2 separate regions of the Homo sapiens genome follow, and region 1 is linked to region 2. Evidence: promoter capture Hi-C in 16 types of primary human blood cells and fetal thymus (Javierre and others, 2016). All regions are on one chromosome and are shown on one strand. Each heading gives the region's core, a stretch centred on a gene start or on the middle of the fragment in contact. The rest is flanking DNA. Distances are from core to core; before and after follow the strand shown.

The links. The method cuts DNA at HindIII sites, captures the fragments that hold promoters and counts their contacts. A CHiCAGO score of 5 or more calls a contact.
Region 1: a fragment that was not itself captured here is called in contact with the fragment with the promoter of COX6B1 in region 2 in 1 of 17 cell types (neutrophils); the score reaches 5.1 in neutrophils.

What each region holds. Positions count from the first base shown.
Region 1 is chr19:35,431,968-35,435,066 of GRCh38, reverse strand. It overlaps LOC101927522 (a long non-coding RNA gene), which reads left to right and starts at 414. Exons shown (of 7, transcript NR_187751.1): 1 at 414-747; 2 at 1,229-1,478; 3 at 1,965-2,208. RefSeq lists an enhancer at 974-2,173. The HindIII fragment of the contact is 997 bases long and covers 1,031-2,027 here.
Region 2 is chr19:35,646,867-35,649,816 of GRCh38, reverse strand. COX6B1 (cytochrome c oxidase subunit 6B1) reads right to left here and starts at 1,494. Exons shown (of 4, transcript NM_001863.5): 1 at 1,414-1,494. RefSeq lists enhancers at 1,233-1,282, 1,443-1,502. The HindIII fragment of the contact is 14,427 bases long and covers 1-2,950 here.

The DNA of each region.
Region 1 (3,099 bases), core at 280-2,779, 210 kb after region 2:
TGTGAGACAGGGTCTCTGTAGAGTGAGTGCTCATATGAGCACTCCCAGGCTGGAGTGCAGTGGTGCGATCTTGGCTCACTACAACCTCTGCCTCCCGGTTTCAAGCAATTCTTCTGCTTCTGCCTCCCGAGTAGCTGGGGTTACAGGCGCATGCCAACACACCCAGCTAATTTTTATATTTTTAGTAGAGATGGGGTTTCGCCATGTTGGACAGGCTGATCTCAAACTCCTGACCTCAAGTGATCTGCCCACCTCCGCCTCCCAAAGTGCTGGGATTACAGGCATGAGCCACCATGCTCGGCCTTGTTTCTATTTTCTTTGACACAAGCACTGTTTATCTTCCAGTGTAAGAACGCAATCAACCATAGCACTGTGGGATAGCAGCCAGGAGGCTGGCTGTATCCTGCTGCAGCAGCCACCACACATGGAGGGCGGAGGGACAGCCACCCTGTTGTGTAGCTCGGAGCAGCTGTGTCCTTCAGTGCAGGTCCAGCCAAGAGCCGTGGGCCACAGATGACGCTGGTGGGGAAGCAGAGGGCAGACTAGGCAGAGGCAAGGCTTTCCTGTGCCCTGAGCTGTCAGAGATGGGCCAGGGCCTTCAGCTTCCTCGATAGGGCAGAAGTGACCACGCTGGCTCCATTCAGCAAAGGACGTGGACGGAGCTGCCGGGCTTGTCTGAGAGGAGGAGAAATGTGGAATTGAGTGAGGCTCTCTAAGAAGGTTCTGCTGGAGTTGAGAAAAATTAGGGTGAGGCACCTCCCCGATTTTATGTCCTTTTTCCTGGGTCCAGCCTCCTGAACAGCTACCATTCGCTTCTGTGAGACACCTGTCGGTGCCTCCTTTTCCAGCCCTTAATGGAACGGTGAGTGAGGTTCCCTGACTGGGGTGGAGTCTGCTTGTGAGTTTCCCCATCCCATGTCTCTCTGACTCCTGCTCCAACTCCTTACTTCGCCAGTTCCTCTCCCAGCCACCTCAGACTTCCCATACCACCCTCCCTGGACAGGAAGCGTTTTTACAGGAGTTTGAAGCTTCAGGAGTGCCCTCCGGCCACATGAAGACAAGGCGCTAACAAACATGGCGTTCTGCAAATTGCACCATCGCCAACTCCTGTCTTACTCTCACAGAGGTCTCTTGGGCTCTTCTGAGAAGGGTGAATGAACTTGGTTGGAGGGAAGAGAGGGGTTTGGTGGCTCTTAGTAAAATTGCTTCACGCAGTGACCTTTGGCAGTTTAGGATAATAACCTGTGCAGAGAGAGGGTCTCCTGTCCTGAAGTCACAGCCCGGATCTCCAGGCTGGCTCTGCTGCCTCTGAATGATTTGTGGGTCACACACGCCAACAGCATCGCCAAGGGCTGACATCAGCCTGCTTGAGCCACGGAAACTGAATGGGCAAGGATGAGTTCCCCAGCACAGAGGGAGGCATCCTCTGTCAAGACCATCTGCGCATGTGCTGTGCAGTCTCCAGTCTGCACTGTGAGGTTAGTACTTCTTCCTCTCTCTAGAAAGTGTAATGGGGGCCAGGCATGATGGCCCACACCTGTAATCCTAGCACTTTGCGAGGCTGAGGTGGGCGGATTGCCTGAGCTCAGGAGTTTGAGACCACCCTGGGCAACATGGTGAAACCCTGTCTGTACTAAAATACAAAAAAATTTAGCTGGGTGTGGTGGCGGGCATGTGTAATCCCAGTGACTCAGGAGGCTGAGGCAGGAGAATCGCTTGAACCCGGGAGGCAAAGGTTGCAGTGAGCCGAGATCATGCCACTGTACTCTAGCCTGGGCAAAAGAGCGAGACTGGCTCAAAAGAAAGCATAACAGAATACTCATAACTGACAGTGACGTTGTAACAGCTTACCTTATATCCTCTCATTTCTTTGTTTACTTAAACTTCCAAAGCCTAGTTTTTTCAGTATTACCAGGAACCATGGACTTACATTTCTTGCCTCTTGGTGTGTTGCCACATCCCAGCAGTGTGTCTCAACGGCTTTTGAGAACTGCTTCGAGAGGGGACCAGATGCGCAGAGACAAGCTTCCAGCCTGGCTAGGGACGGACCCTCTGGGGATGCTCCTCTCTGGCCGGGCAGCAGTAGAAGCACCTGCCTCCATCCACATCCAGACGCCATTCCCTTTTCTTCACCGCTGCTTCCCATCAGATGGTCCCCAGGAGTGGCAACCTCCCACTTGGTCTCGCAGGAGTCCCAGTGCTTCTCAGGTGTGTGTGCCACATCCCTCTTCTCTGAACACACAGTGGTCAGGGTGCCTGCACAGGGAAGGGCACCACAGTCCACCCTGGGAAAGGTCTTCAGTCTTCGGGAAAGAGCCTGTAAGCACCTTGACTGCTCTTCTTCTCTAGGGCAGAGAGCTTTCTTATCCACAGGGGTCCTTAGTCAGAGAGAGGGAGCGCACTCGGTGAGCTCTTTCAGAGGCAGCAGAGCCCTCTGCCTCTCCCCAAATCCCTGCTCCTACAAGTCGAATTAATCTCTCCTAGAAATCCAAGTCCTAACTTCTTCCAGGCGTCTTTTTACATCCACTGTTTGCATAGCCCACCCTTTCTTCTTTGGAGGATCCCCTCAGGTAACTTCCATCTGCTCCTCAGTGTGTCTTACCCCTTCCTTCTGTTCTTTCTTCACCTCCCTCCCTCTCCACCTCCACACTGGACTATATCAAATTCCTGTTCATTTTTTAGCATGGCCCAGTCAAAGCAGGTTAATCTCTCAGTCAGCAGAGGACATTTCACAAAAATTGGGGCCGCTAAATCACAAAAATATTCTCTAAGTCCAGGGCCAGCCCAGAAAAAATGCCCCAAGTCCAGGCAGCCCCCCAGAGTCTGCCGCCGTCTGGAAAATCCGGCTCAGCTCTTGCTCCTGCACATCCTCTCCTTTCCAGTGCTCTGTGTCTGGTCCCTGTCCCACCTCCTCTCCTTTCCCCAGTGTCTTCTGTCTGAATTCTGTGGGCCCAGGACAGCCCCAGCCTTCTCAAAGTCACCTGCATGTCTCTTGGATTAGGCAGCTGAGTGCAAGGTAACAACCAGATCATGCATTTTCATCTCTCCATGGATGGTTGGGGATAGAGCATCACAAGACAGGCATTGTGGCTGGGTGTG
Region 2 (2,950 bases), core at 245-2,744:
AACCCCATCTCATCTCTACAAAAAAAATATTAAAATTGGCCGGAAGAGGTGGCTCACGCCTGTAATCCCAGCACTTTGGGAAGCCGAGGTGGGTGGATCACCTGAGGTCAGGAGTTCAAGACCAGCTTGGCCAATATGGTGAAACCCCATCTCTACTAAAAATACAAAAAATTAGCTGGGCATGGTGGCGTGCACCTGTAATCCCAGCTACCAGGGAGGCTGGGGCAGGAGAATCACTTGAACCCAAGAGGCGGAGGTTGCAGTGAGCCGAGATTGTGCCATTGTACTCCAGCCTGGGCGATACAGCAAGATCTTGTCTCAAAAAAAAAAAAAAAAATTAAAATTAGCCAGGTGTGGTGGCGCGTGCCTGTGGTCCCAGCTACTGAGGCAGGATCGCTTGCACAGGGAAGCAGAGGTTGCAGTGAGCCAAGATTTCTCCACTGCACGCCAGCCTGGGTGACACAGTGACCCTGTCTCAAAAAAGGAGAAAAACAAAAAAAAGGAATGTCTATGATTTTCATTGCTAACAAAATCACCGCTGCTGCTAGTACTACCGAGGTTGCTGCCTCAAAAGGTTAGTAAAAACACAGATGCAATTCCACCCCCCACCCCAATTCAAGTACTAGCATTCCTTGAATTCTACCAACTCTGCGGACCCAGGGTTAAACACCTTTAATATAATGTCTCTGAAGAAGTGACAGTGTTCGTCGGGAGCCTGAGAGAAAAGTATCTATATTCCAGGGAATCCTAGGAGTCGTGGGGCTATACAGAGACTTGCAGAGCAGTGTCAAATTCAAGCGACGCAAGGTGGTGGTGGGGGTCTGGAGCACTAAAACAGTCTTTCGGTGGGGAAGTGGGGTGTAAAACACCAGCTGCTGGGGCACAGACGCAGTAGGAAGGATCGTTACCGGCGAGATCTCTACCCGGTATCTGAGGATGAGGGTGCATCGGAGATGACGCTGCGGCCCCTCCAACGTCCAAAAGGGAGGATGGACTGGACACCCGGGAGCCAGGCTGCGGCCCAGGCAAGCCGCGAGAGGCCACGCCTGTGAATTAGCCATGAAGAGCCCTGGAGGACAAACTCCTGGGCCAAATCCTGGTCGCTGTGTAGGTTCAGCTAGGTCGCTTGGTATCTCTGAGCCTGTTTACTGACAAAAGGGGATAATCGCAGGCCCTATCTCATAGGGCTGGTGGGAGAGTTAAATAAATTAATTAAAGTTGTTTGGGATGTTGCCTGGCATCAAGGAAGAACCGTATCATTGTTAGCTCTTACGATGAACAGAACAGGGCCCCGGGGTCCAGGGAGGCCGGACGCCGCCAGCCGGAAGCCTCAACCCGTTCTCAGGGAAGCTGGGGTCCGGCTCCTCAGCCCGCTAGACTGGGGTCCCAGGTTACAGAACCCTCCACACTCACCTAAAGGCACCCCGGATTCAACCTGCAGCTCAATGTGACCCTCAGCAAAGACACCACAGTCGGACAGGAAGCGGAACTACTACCAGCCGGAAGCTGAGAGAGGTGGGGACTACGGGAGTCTTGCGAGCGGCTTCAGCTCCCTCCCAGGAGGAGGCCACTGAAGTCATTCAAGCCACGCCCAGCAAGAGAACTACGACTTTCTATTGGGCTAAATGCTTGTTCATCCTCACTTCTGGCCCAATCGTGAGCTTGCGCGGCTGGGGCTCGGGCGCCCGTGGGTTACCCGATCTCATCACCTCTGTGTCTTCACTCGGAGAGAGTGTTATAGATCCCGGGGCTGGCTGGAGGGTAGGTGTGGAGAAAAATGTCCCAGCGAAAGTACTTTTATTCATGCAAGAAATATTTATTGAACGCTTTTTCTGTGTCAGGTATTTCTTTTCTTTAAATTTTTTTTTTCTTTTTTTTAAATTTTTGAGACAGGGTCTTACTCTATGGCCCAGGCTGGAGTGCAGTAGCGCGATCTCAGCTCACTGCAACCTCCGCCTCCTGGGTTCAAGCGATTCTCCCGCCTCATCCTCCCGAGTAGCTGGGATTACAGATGCGCACCGCTACTCCTGGATATATATATGCATTTTATAGAGATGGGGTCTTGCTGTGTTACCCAGGCTGGACTCGAACTCCTGGTCTCTAAGCGATCCTCCCGCCTCGGCCTTCCAAAGCGTTAGGATTACCGGCGTGACCCACCGTATCCAGCCATCAGGCACTTTACGGGTTGAGAAAGCACGCTGCACAAAACACAAAAATCCCTACCCTTAAAATATATATATAGAGAGAGAGACGGAGTCTCACTCTGTCGCCCAGGCTGGAGTGCAGTGGCACGAACTTGGCTCACTGCAACCTGCGTCTACTCGGTTCAAGCGATTCTCCTGCCTCAGCCTCCCGAGTAGGTGCGATTACAAGCGCACGCCACCACTCCCGGCTAATTTTGGTATTTTTGGTAGAGATGGGATTTCACCATGTTGGTCAGGTTGGTCTTGAACTCCTGACCTCAGGTGATCTGCCCACCTCGGCCTCCCAAAATGCTGGGATTACAGGCGTGAGCTGCCCTACCTGGCCAATTTGGCTTTTTTTTTTTTTTTTTTTTTTTTTTTTTCAGACAGAGTTTTGCTCTTGTTGCCCAGGCTGGAGTGCAGTGGTGTGATCTTGGCTCACTGCAACCTCCACCTCCCGAGCTAGAGCGATTCTTCTGCCTCAGCCTCCCCAGTAGCTGGGATTACAGGCATGCGCCACCACACCTGGCTAATTTTGTATTTTTAGTAGAGATGCGGTTTGTCCATGTTGGTCAGGCTGGTCTTGAACTTTTGACCTCAGGTGATCTGCCCGCCTTGGCCTTCCAAAGTGCTGGGATTACAGGCGTGAGCCACCGTGCCCGGCTATATCTGTTCTTTTACATTATGTTTACCTCTTTTTGCCTCCCTCAACAGAAAAGAATTATCATAAAGGAAGAATTTTTGTCTGCCTTATTCATTCACCATTG